Regions from separate parts of the Homo sapiens genome. Here region 1 is linked to region 2. Evidence: promoter capture Hi-C in 16 types of primary human blood cells and fetal thymus (Javierre and others, 2016). All regions are on one chromosome and are shown on one strand. The core of a region is centred on a gene start or on the middle of the fragment in contact, and the rest is flanking DNA. Distances in the headings are between cores, read along the strand shown.

What was found. Contacts are between HindIII fragments. The CHiCAGO score rates a contact against its expected background, and 5 or more counts as called.
Region 1: a contact is called between a fragment that was not itself captured here and the fragment with the promoter of CMAS in region 2, in 4 of 17 cell types (non-activated CD4 T cells, total CD4 T cells, megakaryocytes and 1 more). The highest score is 8.8, in non-activated CD4 T cells.

Annotation. Positions count from the first base shown.
Region 1 is chr12:21,481,576-21,488,611 of GRCh38, reverse strand. It overlaps RECQL (RecQ like helicase), which reads left to right. Exons shown (of 15, transcript NM_002907.4): 5 at 2,027-2,133; 6 at 5,038-5,236. Among named protein-coding and RNA genes, the nearest start is that of RECQL, 17 kb to the left of the region's middle. The HindIII fragment of the contact is 235 bases long and covers 1,338-1,572 here.
Region 2 is chr12:22,042,587-22,049,483 of GRCh38, reverse strand. It overlaps CMAS (cytidine monophosphate N-acetylneuraminic acid synthetase), which reads right to left and starts at 3,266. Exons shown (of 8, transcript NM_018686.6): 1 at 2,921-3,266. The coding sequence starts at 3,180. RefSeq lists enhancers at 568-1,173, 2,134-2,839, 3,155-3,449 and silencers at 3,142-3,369, 3,013-3,382. The HindIII fragment of the contact is 10,395 bases long and covers 877-6,897 here.

The DNA.
Region 1 (7,036 bases), core at 206-2,705, 560 kb after region 2:
AAGAACTCTTGGGAATGGAGAGGGGAAAGATGATGAATTTATTTGGGACATGTTGAATTTACGATGCCTTTAAGACATCCAGGTGGAATTGTCCTATGAGTAGGAGGATGTTTGTGTCTAAAGCCTGGTGTTAGAGGTCTGAGTTGGGGGTTGTTAGTGTGGAGATGGCCACTGAAGCCATTGGAATGAATTTCAGAGCAGCATAAGAAGAAAAGAAGGCCTAGAACAGAAACCAGAACACCAAGAGTTTAGGGATAAACAGAGAAAAAGGGCTTGCAGACAAGGCTGAGAAAGAGTAGCAACATATAGGATAACCAGGATTGTATGATGTTATTAGAAGGCTAGGGAAGGGTGTGTTTGAATGAGGGAGTAGTTAATAGTGATGTCTGTTAGCAAAATGTCAAATACGTAAGGATGTAAGTTTCAATGAGTTTAATGACAAAGGACTCATCTATGACCTTAGCTAGAGCAATTTTATTGAAATGGTTGGGTGGAGACCAAATAGCAATGGTTTGAAGCAGGTAGGAATTGAGGAAGTGGAACTGGTGAGTATGGGATTCTCTTTGGAAAAGAATGACTATGAAGGGAAGAAGAGAGTGGGCCATAAATGAGATGTTATCTTAGTCTATTCCAGCTGCTGTAACAGAATACTTTATATCAGTTAATTAACAAACAACAGAAGTTTACTGCTTGCAGTTCTGGAGGCTGGGAAGTCCAAGATCAAGATGCTAATAGATTTCGGTGTCTAGAGAGGGGGTGTTTCTCATAGATGGCACCTTCTTGCTACACCCTCACATGGCGGCAAAGAAAGGGCACTCCCTTCAACTTTTTGTAAAATGGCATTAATCCCACTTATGAAAGCAGAGCCCTCATTACTTAATCACTTCTGTGGGGATACCAACTTTCAGACCATAGTGGGTGTTTTCCAAGATGAGAGGGACTTGACCATGTTTAAATGTAATGAGTAGGTGCTAGTAAGGAAAAGTGAAAATAATAGGAGAGAGAATAATTGACTGGGAAAAATCCCTAATAAGGTCTTAATTTGATTATGTTTTTTAAACATGTCTGCTCTTTGCCAAAGGTTGTTTTAAGAAACAAACTACAGAAACGTAAAGCCATATATAATTTTAACTGTAGAATAGCTTTTGTACTTTAAACAGTTTCAATTATAAGGAAGGGGGCATATTACTATAACTTCATTCAGACAGTAAACTGTTCACTGATTTCTACTCAGCATAAATGAATCTCGTACAAAAAGTAAAAGAATGCTTATGCAACTATCATGTTTAATTATACACACTACTGTATAATTAAAAATCTGGTTTTTTTGGAAAGCTTTATAGTGATTTTTCCCTGATGAAACTGTTTAGTGTTTGAACTGATATATGTTGTCTTACTGAAATTACCAATAGTGATTATTTAAAACGATAGCAAATTAAACATTTGAAATGATAAAAATCTGTCTTTATTTTTATAAGGATAGAGTTCTGTTTAGTTGTATGTTTATTTGGCTTCTACTTACCTTGTTTGGTCATTTATTCATATCTAATTAATGAGAGTAAGAAGTAAGCTTTACTAAAGCTGCATTAAAAATTAATCTGAATTGATGGCCAGTGCCCACAAGTTAAGAAGGTGAATGGGCCGGGCGTGGTAGCTCATGCCTGTAATCCTAGCACTTTGGGAGGCCAAGGTGGGCAGATTGCCTGAGCTCAGGAGTTTGAGACCAGCCTGGGCAACACAGTGAAACCCTGTCCCTACTAAAATACAAAAGAAATTAGCCAGGCATGGCAGCAGGTGCCTGTAGTCCCAGCTACTCGGGAGGCTGAGGCAGGAGAATTGCTTGAACCCGGGAGGCAGAGGTTGCAATGAGCCAACATCGCACCACTGCACTCTAGCCTGGGCAAGAGAGTGAGACTCCATCTCTAAAAAAAAAAAAAAAAAAAAAAAAAAAAAACGTGAATGGTTTGCATCTGATTCTGAGGGTGGTGTAAAGTTTAAGGTAGATTTTTTTTTTTTTCTCTTTTAGGTTTTACACTCGTCATTTGCCCATTGATCTCTCTTATGGAAGACCAATTAATGGTTTTAAAACAATTAGGAATTTCAGCAACCATGTTAAATGCTTCTAGTTCTAAGGTATGTTTCAGTGGCTTTTTTTTTTTTAATGTAAACTATTCACTGAAATAGGAGCTTTACCTGCAGTTGAGTTGCTTATAAAATTATAAACTGTTAACTATTTATATCAGGAGTTACAAACTACTGCTCTTGGCCAGTTCTGGCCCACTGTCTATTTTTGTATGTCCCATGAGTTAAGAATGGTTTTTATATTTTTAAATGGCTAAAAAAAATCTAAAAAGAATATTTTGTGAAATGGGAAAATTATTTGCAATTCAAGTTTCAGTATCCATAAATAAAGTTTTATTGAAACACCACCATGCTCATTTGTTGACATGTTGTCTATGGCTGCTTTTACAGTATAATGGCACAGTGGAGTAGTTGTGATAGAGACCTTATAGCCCATAAAACCTAATATTTTTGTCTGATACTTTACAGGAAACATTTGCTGACCTGTTTTGTATTATCCATTCTAAAATAGTAAGGGAGAATTGCTAATTATGCAGTGTAATTAAATATGAAATATGAATTATTAAGAAGTTACCCTATACCTGTGGAATTTCTTGTATTTAGGAATGGACTGTCTTACCCTCATCTGTAGAATAAAGCATTTCCCAGCTATTCTTTTTTAAAAAGCATATTACTGAAATCTTCAAAAGGAGAGAGAATAGCATAAAAACTGCCATGTAGCCATTTCCCCCTTCAACAGTTATCAACATACGGCTAATCTTTTTTTTTAATCTGTATACCTCCAGTTTTCCCTACCCCTTTCCTCTTAGTTTATTTATTCAGAACAAATTCCAGACATCATATTTTAATTGTAAATTCTTCAGTACGTATCTCTAACTTTAAAGAAAAGTGCTGTGCCATCATCACATCTAAGAAGTTTAATCAATTCTTTAGAATTATAAAAAAAATTCAGATTTCTATCTCATTTTTATGTTTTTTTTAAAAAAAAATATAGCCCAGATAATATTCATGCATTGTATTGTATTTGGTTGATATACCCATAGGTTCTCTTTATATCTTTTATATTTCCCATGCAAATTCTTTGTTGAAGAAACTGGGTTAACTGTCCTGTATCTTTCTACATTTTCCTGATTGCGTCCTTGTGGTGTTCTTTCTTTCTCTCTTTCTTTTCTTTTCTTTCTTTTTCTTTTTTTTTTTTTCAGTTCTGGGGTCCATATGCAGGATGTGCAGGTTTGTTACATAGGTAACTGGATCCTTTTAGTTAGATCTAAAAGCCTGATTGTATTTGGAATTTTTCTTTAACTTTTTTTTTTTTTTTTGCAAGAGTATACTTACTGTGGTATCACTCAAGTGGTACATAGTACCTGGTTATCTTTTTGTGATGCTAAGCGTCAGTGGGTTCAAGTGATGTCTGCCTGATCTCTGGTTATCAGTTTTTCATCTAATGGTTTTAGCAGCCACTGAGTGGCACCGTGAGAGCCATGATTTCATTAGGGAGGTGCAAAATGGTGATATCTAATTCTGTCACTCTTTCTTCATGTATTAGTTATACTTTTTCTACAAAAATAAACTTTTTCCTCATTAACTCTGCATGATGAAAATGCTTGATTTTTTTTTCCCTTTCTTTATGAGTTTTCAGAAAGAGTTGGTTTTCTAGCATTCTCCAAAGGTGGTCAACAAGATTTTTAAGGTTTTCTTTCCCCAAGTATCACTATAAACTTACAAGCTTTGACGTATAATATGATTCACCTTTGGAATCATATATATATATATATCAATATGTATATATGTAATGCTGAAATAGTCCTGTCCTTGGGCAGTGAGAGCCTCTTTAAGTTGGTTCCTGAATCCTTTCTCTTAACCCCATTGCTTCTGTTCCTTGCTTTCTTTTGCAGTAAGATAATCCATGTTCATTTTATGCATTTCCTGCCCAGACCTAGAGTCAGCCATACCTCTAAGAAGCCCTGGTTCCTTTAGTTTACCCATATATTTTTGTTTTATTTAAACTCCATGTCATTCTATTATAACTGCTCCTTCCTCCAACAAAATCAATCTGTGGAGAAAACTGCCTTCTAATAATGTACTTTCTTAAAATTGAAAAAGAACATAATAGTAATAGAAAGTAATTTAGAAAGTTGCAGATAATTACAAGTTCATGATATATCCCTACTCTTGAAAGTTGGAGAGAGAAAAAAAGAACATCTGTATCCTAGAATATATCTAGGAGTTAACAAACTGCTTCTTTGCTGGGATGATGAAAGTAGTTTGACTGTCTCTTTCTATCTCATTCACTGGCATGTTTTTATACTTTTTTGGTCCTCTTTAGATTAGAAGGAAAAAAAATGACATCTAATATGCTAAGTATTGTATAGAATTGTATGAGTACTAAGAATCTAATAACTGTTACCTTTTAAGATTTATTATTATTATCTTAATTTAATGAGTGATACTTTGTGAAACCCCATGGTCTTTATATTTAAATAAAGAGATTAAAAGATTTGATGGTATCATTTGAGAAGTTAATAAATAATAAATTTTGTTCACATACATAAAGGGATTATAAATATAATGTTAAAATTAATAAAACCCACCTTTATAACCATAACAATTGCATCTAGCTCACATTTTAGAATATATTATGAACAATTTAGGATTATGCCTTCATAGAATAAATGCTCTTCATTGGAGTATCTGTTTGTGTTCTTTTTTGTCAAGTGAGTTTTTTTTAGTCATCAACAATGTAGACGTTAGTAAATAACTAGAATGCTATTTACACAGCTGCCATGATGTTTCGTACTGAGACATGGTTTCAGTTTTAATGAACTAAACATCTGCTCCTAGAAGAGCCAAAGGCTATTATTGCTTTGGAGAAATGAACGTTTTCATTTACCACCTAGTATTTCAGTCTGCTAGCTTAGTTTTACTATCATTGTGTCTATTTTTTTCTTTTAATAGGAGCATGTTAAATGGGTTCATGCTGAAATGGTAAATAAAAACTCCGAGTTAAAGCTGATTTATGTGACTCCAGAGAAAATTGCAAAAAGCAAAATGTTTATGTCAAGACTAGAGAAAGCCTATGAAGCAAGGAGATTTACTCGAATTGCTGTGGATGAAGTTCACTGCTGTAGTCAGTGGGGACATGATTTCAGACCTGGTATGTATGTTTTATCTAGAAAACTTTTTGATGTCATAGACCGTGTCCTTACTCAGCTTGGCATGATGGAAATCTCTGCTTCTATTAAAATCATCCTCAAGTAGTTACACATTGAATATCCGTTATCCAGAATGTTCGGAACCAAAAGGGTTTTAAATTTTGGATTTTTTTGGATTTGGGATGATCAACCTGTATTACTTATTTTATCTTGCCTCATTATGAGGAGGACTGAGAGGCAGAATGTTTAGTTTCATTCCCCACTGTAGTCTGTAGTTTAATTGCCCTTGTCAATTATGGACAAATATGGACACATATGTTTACTAGCCAATAGTGGACATCTTTGTGGCATTTATGACATCTAGGTATTCCTTCACATTTGTTGAAGAATTTGCATCTGTTTCAAAGTTGTCATCTTTAGTCATCATTCTGAGGGTCTTTTCAGCACCCACATACAACTCCTCAGCATGAAACTTTGATGAGATATTTTTAGTGACCTTTTTCTTCACCCCACCACCTAATCCTACAGTCATAGCCTAAAGTAAGTTACTCAGAATTGTTATATGCAAAAAAATCTTAAATTCAAAAATCCGACTCCCTGGCTTCAACCTGTTTTCCTTCTGAAGCTTTTCACACATTAGGATTTGCTGGATCCCTCTTTTAATCCCTGCTTATTTATCCAGGCTCCTGTCCCTACATAGCAATCACTCTGTTTCCCGTCCAGACACTGTGCTGTTGCCCCTTACTTCTGTTATATTTGCCCTGGACTGCCTGGCCATTCTGCCAGTCTGCTTCAGGCGTTGTGCCTGAGATGCTGGATTCATCTAGACTTTGGCTTTCCCCATTCCTGCTGCTTGGCTACTAAACATTGTCAAAAAAACAAAAATTGCATAACTCCATTCAGCTTTTCATTATCCTCAGCCGTCCTTATACTTGTCCCTATTTCAACTCCTTTATACATTTCTTCCAACAAATGTCTCCTATCATTAACTTTCTATTCAGGCCCTAACTTGTACTTAGCAGATGCTTTCTGCTTCACAGAAAATAGATGCCATCAGGTATGAACAGCTCCTCTTTCTACTTTCAAACATTAGTAATCTTTTTTTTTTTTCTTTTGTTAAGGCAGAAAAGACCACTGCTTTATAAGGCTAACCATGACCACTCCCGTTTCATCCTTTCCTGCCTTCTTAAGATCTTGCACTGCCAAATTCCTCACTCCTTCACCTTCAGGCTCTTTTGTCCTCTCCCTAAAAACAGAAACTAAAACACCCTTCTGACCTTTTAATGTTACTGTCCTCTTTCTGTTCTTTCTGTCACCATCAGACTTCTCAGCTTACCATCTCCATTTTTCACCTTTAACCCATTCTGAACTCATTGAATCATGCTTCTGCCACCACCATACTACTGAAACAGGTCATCGGTGACCCACCCCCAGATGAGACCACTTCATCAAGTGGTCTCATCTTCATTCCTCTTCCCACTTCACTTCAGTAACATTTTATATATTCACCTCTCACCTTGCCACATTCTACTCCCTTGGTTACTGTACAGCAGTGCTGTTCAGTGTCTTCCCTTCCATTCTCACCTCCTTCGCTCTTCCTGTCTTCTTTTTAAATATTAGTGTTCCCTAGGGTTCTGACCTCAGTCTTTACCCTTTCTTACGTTTCTCCAGGGATAGTGAGCTTGTAGCCCGAAGACTGCATTCTCTACCTACAGAATTATTATGGGCATTGTTTTTATTTATTTATATATTTTAAATAGATTTAAATGCCTTAAACGGGATGTATACGCCTTTCTATTAAG
Region 2 (6,897 bases), core at 2,017-4,516:
AGTCTTTTTTTAAAAGAAGTTTTGTACAAATGCTAAAATGTGGAAATGGGAAAATCATTGGTCAATATATATACATATTTTCCAATCATTTCATAGCAAAATCCCCAATGCCTGCTGTAATGGTTGGTTGTTGGGTTCTGACCAACAGAATCTATTCCCCCTCACTTTTGGTAATTGTACTCCAATTTTCCTCTTGATGAACCTGTCATGTTTTTCAGCGGGGGCTCCATCGCTGGTTTCAAGAGTGGAAGATGAAGCTATACTGTAGCAATACAAGCACTATGTTCCTCTTGCCATAGTGACTGGTTGAAGAATGAGCAGGGTACCCAATGAGGCACAATGAAACTTCGAGCTTCGAGGAGAGCACTCCTTCTGACTTACATTTAAACCTGTAAGAATATGAGGACTGCTATCAAAGACACACAAAATCGGTGACTAAAGTGTTAAGGACAGATTGTATTCTGTTACTACTGCAACAGGGAAAAGAGTCCAATGTGAATTGCATTCACAGCCCCAGAAAACGAAAGGCTGGAGACTTTAAAGGCTGAGTTGTGCTAAGGGAAAGGCACTGAGGGGTGCTAACAGGGCTTAGTCCGTGTGACTAGGCCATATGGATTTGTTAACTAGCGCTTATCTGGAAGAGAAACAATCTTCTATCCTTATGAGACAAGGCAACTGAGCAAGTTGAAGCAAGGTGTCCACTGAACTTTGCCCTTTATCTTCCCAGAGGGACTAGGAAGGAGAGTAAGAGTTATTTCCTAGAATGTTCGCATTTCACTGAGACAGGGTTCTGGGGCTCCCAGGTCCTTGAGGAAACAGTTTTGTGTGGTAGATTTACATCTCAAAAGGCAGGGAAAGTTTTTATAATTGCAAGCTTTCTAAACTAATTGCTCTAAAAGAGGGTTCAGGGGCCTCTCACCAGGTTTTTCCTGGAACAATCAGGAAATTCTGGCAGCTTTGAGCCTCTTCAGGAAGCCATTTTAAGGGAACCTGAGATCATCCTAGGGACATGGCCTTAAGCTGCTAGAAGCCATGCTAGGGCTTGGTCAAGTCTCTTGGAGCAGAGGTTTGGAGCAAGTCATTAGGTACCCTGAGAGTTCTGCAGTTCTCAGTACAACCACCTTGAAACCATAAAGGGTCTATCCAGAGCTAAGAAATTGAGGATTCTGGCAACAAAGTGCACCATCCTCTTATCCTGCTTTACTTTTTCTTAAAAATATTTATCATAACGTGATACAACACACATTAATGTTCTTGTATACTGCATGTCTTTCCTTATTATAACGTAAGCTCTATGAGACTAAGGGCTGTCTCTACTGCTACTACACGTGGTTCGGTACATACAACAGTGCCTGTTACATAGTAGGTAGGCAGTAAGTATGCTGAATGAATGAATCATTTTTTTGTCCTTGAATCTGACTGTACCTTAATAAGCCTTTCCCTCTTTTGTTATGCCAGTTTGAACAGGGTTTCCTGATATATACAACCTAAGAGTTGTAAATGGTATTAACAGTTTTGTTCTCCATTTACTGTGAATATGATTTTGATCTCTAGTTCATTTCACAAAAATGATATTTCACTATATTACTGCAGTCTGGATGCACCTACTTCTCTCAGTCCTTTTTAGTTTGTACCCTTTCTAAGAATGTAAAAATATCCCAAAGTTTGTGAGCTTCACAAGGACAAAAACTGTGTCCCAATCATCTTGGTATTCCCTTGGACATGTATAGCAGAAATTAGGGCTCAGTAAATAGCTACTGAATTGAACAAAATCCCCAGGTCCTTCCCTATCTCTCCTTCGCACACTTCCTATTGCACTAGTGTTATCTTCTGAGTGGTGGCTCCTATTTGCCTTGGTCCATCCAGGACTTCTTTTGGGTTGAAACATTAAGAAAATTAGTATATTTATACTTTTTTGGCATCTCCCGTTTTTGAACAAGACTGGTTAAATGAAAATCATTTACCCATATATTAATATGGGTAAGCAAATATAGGTTCAAAAAGAAAAAGAGATGACTTCAAAAACAGTCATCTCTTTAAAAATCGAAACATCAAAAGGTTAACATAAATTAATTTCCACAATAACAACACATTCAAATGTAGTTAGGTTGAAGCTATATGTGTAAATTCATTCTTGGCACAGAATTCGATCTCCCTTCTTTTATGAATAACATCAGCTTGTAACTCCTGACCAATTTGGCAATGTATCTAAATTACGCATAATTAAAACTGTCCATAGGGCAGGCGAGGTTCCAAAGGTATGATTAAATGATTTGTAAGTATTAATATATCATAAAACAGTCAGTTGTACACCTTCCCACTGAGTCTCACGTATTTATAAATGTAGGGAGTTTTCTAGATTGTGCTGACTCACAGGAAGATAGCTGGAGTATTTTTCAAAGGTTAGGAAAAGATCTCCAAGCTGAGCTTGAAATTCAGCTCTGACACCCCGACACTCAACTCCATTCATGAACCTGATGCCTCCCTAATCGAGCAGCACCAAGCAGTTATCAGAGGCTGAGCAACAGGGGAGCTTCGATGGCCCCCATCCAAAGAAGTTCACATATTATCACAGATGTTGCACCGGGGTGGCCTCCTTTACTTTTCCCCGTAAGGTCAACCCGGGAGGAGGGGACGGTTGGGGAGGTGTAATCTCCCCTTTTACGGATGATTCTCAAGGGCGGAGACAGGAACTGTCCCAGGTTATGACCATTGGCAGCTACGGAACAAGGAAGGAGCTGGAGCCCTTCCTCCTGGGCTCTCAGCCCGGCCCCAGGCACCCCGGATCTTGCACATCCCTGGCATGAGAGATGGCCCCCTTCCAAGAGCGGTGGCCCCGGAGGCCCCAGCCCCTCCAGCAGCCCGACTCCCTCTCCCGACCCCCGCCCAGGCCGCGCCGCCCACTCTCGCACATGCGCACCTCTGGAAGGCCCCTGAATCCAGGGCCGCACGCAGGACCCAGCCAATGAGCGGGACCCCCGCCAGGTGCTTAATGTTCTTCAGGGGGATGCCTTTGCTGCCTCCCCGGGCCAGAATTAGGGCTGCCAGGTGCGGGGGCTTCTCCACACCTCGGCCCTGGCCGCCGCGAGAGTTGCGCTGCAGCTTCGGCGGCCGGCCCCGGGACGGTCGCCCCCGCGGGTTGGAGACGGAGGTGGCGGCCCCCTTCTCCACCGAGTCCATCTTCCTCCCACGCCTTCTCCCCAGCTTCTCCACATCCGGGAGCTAGTCCCTCACCACCTCAGCTCGGCGCCGCCCGATCCCCGCCTGGCAGCTGGCGCGCGCGGCCGTCCCTCGCCCCGCCCCCTCCCCCGCCCCTCGCGGTGCTCGCTGGGAATTGTAGTCCGCGGCCGCCTCGTCTGGGGCCAGTAGGCCAAGTAGGCTCTGATGAGGTGACCCCAAAACTAAGTCAAGCAGTGGGAGTCCAGAGATATTTGGAGGAAGTGCGGCTTTTGGGGTGCTTGCAAGTGTCTGTAAATTTCTAAAATTAAAAAAGAAAAAAAGTATTTATAATTGCTGAAGAACTTCCCCACTTTAGAATTGTGGTGGGTTTCCCGTTGCATACCTTGATGCACCCTGACACGAATCCATTTTATATTTTAAAATGTACATTTTAAACATACACCTTTTTTTAATGCCCCTGGGTCATTTTTTCCAAGAAATTACTGACCAGCTCATTCAAATATCCTACAGGCGCCTTAAACTCAACGTTTTAAAAACTCCATTTTTCATATGCTCTCCGCACTTTGATCGACATCAGCATTCCCTAGCAGCAGAAATTTGGAAGTCAGCTTTACTGGTCACCTCTAGTGTGGCCGACACTTGGTTTTTTGGTTTTGTTTTGTTGTCTGCTAAAAATCTTTTCCTTTTAGGAATTGATCCCTCTCTCATCCGGTGAGGGTTTCCCTCACATTCTCTGCACTGTGTGTGACCCAAGCTGGTCCATCTACGCACCCCATTTTCCTTAACACACCTGTGGTCTAGGGACAGGCATATGACCAAGCAGAGCCCACTGGAGTCCTTTCCAGAGAGTCTTGGAAAGAAAGGATCTTTCTCGTGCTGACTGGGTGCTAAGGACCTTGTTAACCTGAAGCCTCAGGGCAAGGGTAGGGTAGGGCGGCAGGGGGGCTTTGCTGTTCTGAAATGGGCTGGAAGACTGATGTTCTCCCTGAGGAAGCAGAACAATGACATGTAGGGATTAAAGAGAAAGAATTCTGGAGGCATCATTTAAACTCTTTTTTTTTTTTGAGACAGATTCTCACTGTGTCCCCCAGAAGGCTGGAGTGCAGTGGCACAATCTCGGCTCGCTGCAACCCTCTGCCACCCATTCTCAAGCGTCCTGAGTAGCTGGGATTACAGAGGGGCACCACCACACCCAGATAATTTTTGTATTTTTAGTTGAGTTGGGGGTTTCACCAGGTTGGCCAGGCTGGTCTTGAACTCCTGACCTCAAGTGATCTGCCCGCCTCAGCCTCTCAAAGTGCTGGGATTATAGGCATGAGCCGCCACGCCTGAGCATTTAAACCCTGATCCAGCCAAGAGGCTCAAAGACATACACCCACACACACCTCTCTTAGGAAAAAAAAAAAAAGAGACTTTAAAGCAGGCATCTCTGACCTAGCATGCATTTTGTCTTTCAGCATGTTTGCAAGCCTATATTTGGAAGTAGAGTCTTTTACATTTCTGAGATGGAGGCTGATACAAACAGAAAGAATGGATTGTAGTGTGTCGGCTTGCCTTCTCCCAGAGGGCAAAAGGATTTTGTACTTCTCAGGTCTTGGCCATTTTTGAGGGGAGAGAAGAAGTCTTTGATGTTTTGGGTCCTATGAGAGGTACTGGATACTTTACATCTCTTAGTCTGTGAATTAACTGAGGGCCCAGCCCTTCCTGGGACTGGTGCTGGAAGAAGGTGCTTCGTGCAGACACAGATAAGGGAGGCTGTGAGCAGACATCAATGCCATGCTTGGGAAAGGGGCAGGCTCTATGAGCCATTCCAGCACTGAAGGGCAAGGGGACAACTTGCCCCCATACACTGGCTCTTTGAGTAGGGCCTTTGCAGTTGCTGTGCCTCAGAGACACCAGCACTGAGCTTTTGGTAGTCATGTGAGGACCCCTACTACACCCCAATAACAATCTTGATTCCTATTAATGATTTAGTTGCCCTTCTCCACAGTAATTCCCTACAGGCCCATAAATCCTAGTGGACCACAGACACCTGAGTAGTTTTGACTCCTGGGGCATATTGGTGTCCTCTAAGCTGGGAACAGAGCAAGTGGCACCACTGTTACTTATCAAATGAGATTATAGCGATTTACATAAATACCAAGAGACTTTGAACTCTTCCAGGAGAGGGACTGTTCCTTCTTTGTAATCTTCTCATCCAGAACAATGCATGGGTCACAGTACTGCTCAGTAAACATTGGTGAACTGCCTCTCATATTACTTTTTCAGTCTCTGCCCACGCATGCTTTTTAAAATATAGTTGCAAACTTATGATAATAAAGCATTTTATATCCTTTGTATGGTTACAGCACAATTTTGATTAGACCTGACACTTAGCTACTCCCAATCTTGAGAGACGGAGACAAAGGAAGAGAGAGAGGTGGTGGTAGTAGAAGGGGAAGGTGATGCATCTAGTTCAGCATATGGCACACAGAAATTTGATGAATTTTAAAAAATGAAATTAGAGTTTACTCTTTTACAATATTTTTACTTAGTCCAAAGAGAGAATGATTGTTCCAGGAAGAGGAAGAGGATGGGTTATCCTGTCTTTTTCTTTGGATTAGTTTTGAGGAACAAAATAAACTACTCTCAAAGCAAATATTCGGTCATCTTTCCTTTAAAGATCAGTATGAAGTGTTGCTGCTGAAGAATAATTCATTCGTATTTATTGTGAAAGAATATATCCTTATATTATCTCTTGTTTTATGATTTTGTATGTAAACAAACTTTGTATACAGAGGAGTCCTTTGACTCACTCATTTGTTCACATTCACTGCATTCCAAAAGCCAGGCTCTGTGCTACACGTTAAAAATACCAAACCAAGAGGTGAAAGGCAGCGAACTTAGCATTATGACAGGGAGACAGGCACACCCCAGTAGAGTGTGATTTGTGCTGTGAAAAAGTGTACATGAGGTAGGCAAGCACAGAGGGAGGTATTTAGGCTAGAGTAAAACTTTTCTTTGCTGAGATGACTCTTGAAAGATTGTTAAAGTACAAAAAAGACCTCAGCTGAGGGAATGGCATTGTGCAAGGTGCAGAGGAATGAGACTACATGATGATTTAGGAAACTTGAAGTGAGTCACTATGACTGAAGCAGAATATACTGGTTGGTTAGTGGCGAAAGATGAAAATAGAGAGGAACGCGTGGGCCAGATTACAGCACATAAAGACCTTATGTGTTCAGCTTTGTTAAGGAAGTTACAGATAGAAGGGATATAACTTGATTCACGCCATTCTTTCAACAAATCGTTATTGCATGACAACTGTGTCAGGCACTTTTCTGGGCACTGAAAATACACTGAGGTGATGAAAAGTGCTCAAATTTTCCGGATATATCTTAAAAGTATAGCTAATAGGATTTTCTGACAGACTAGGTGAAATGCATGAGAGAAACAGGAAAATTGGTGTGATTCCAGGATCTTTGGCCTGACCATTAGTAGGAGGGAGTTGCTATTAACCGAGATGGAAAGGATAAGAAGGACTAAGGTTTGGAGACAAAATTATGAATTCTGTTTTATAAATGCCATGTGTGAAATATCTATTAGCTATCCAAAGGGAAATAAACAGTGGGCTATTGAATATGTTACCCTAGAGTTTATAGGAGGGGTCTAGGATATGAATATAGCTTGGGAGTCATCAGCATTTGGGTACTATTCTCAGCCATAGGACTAGATGAG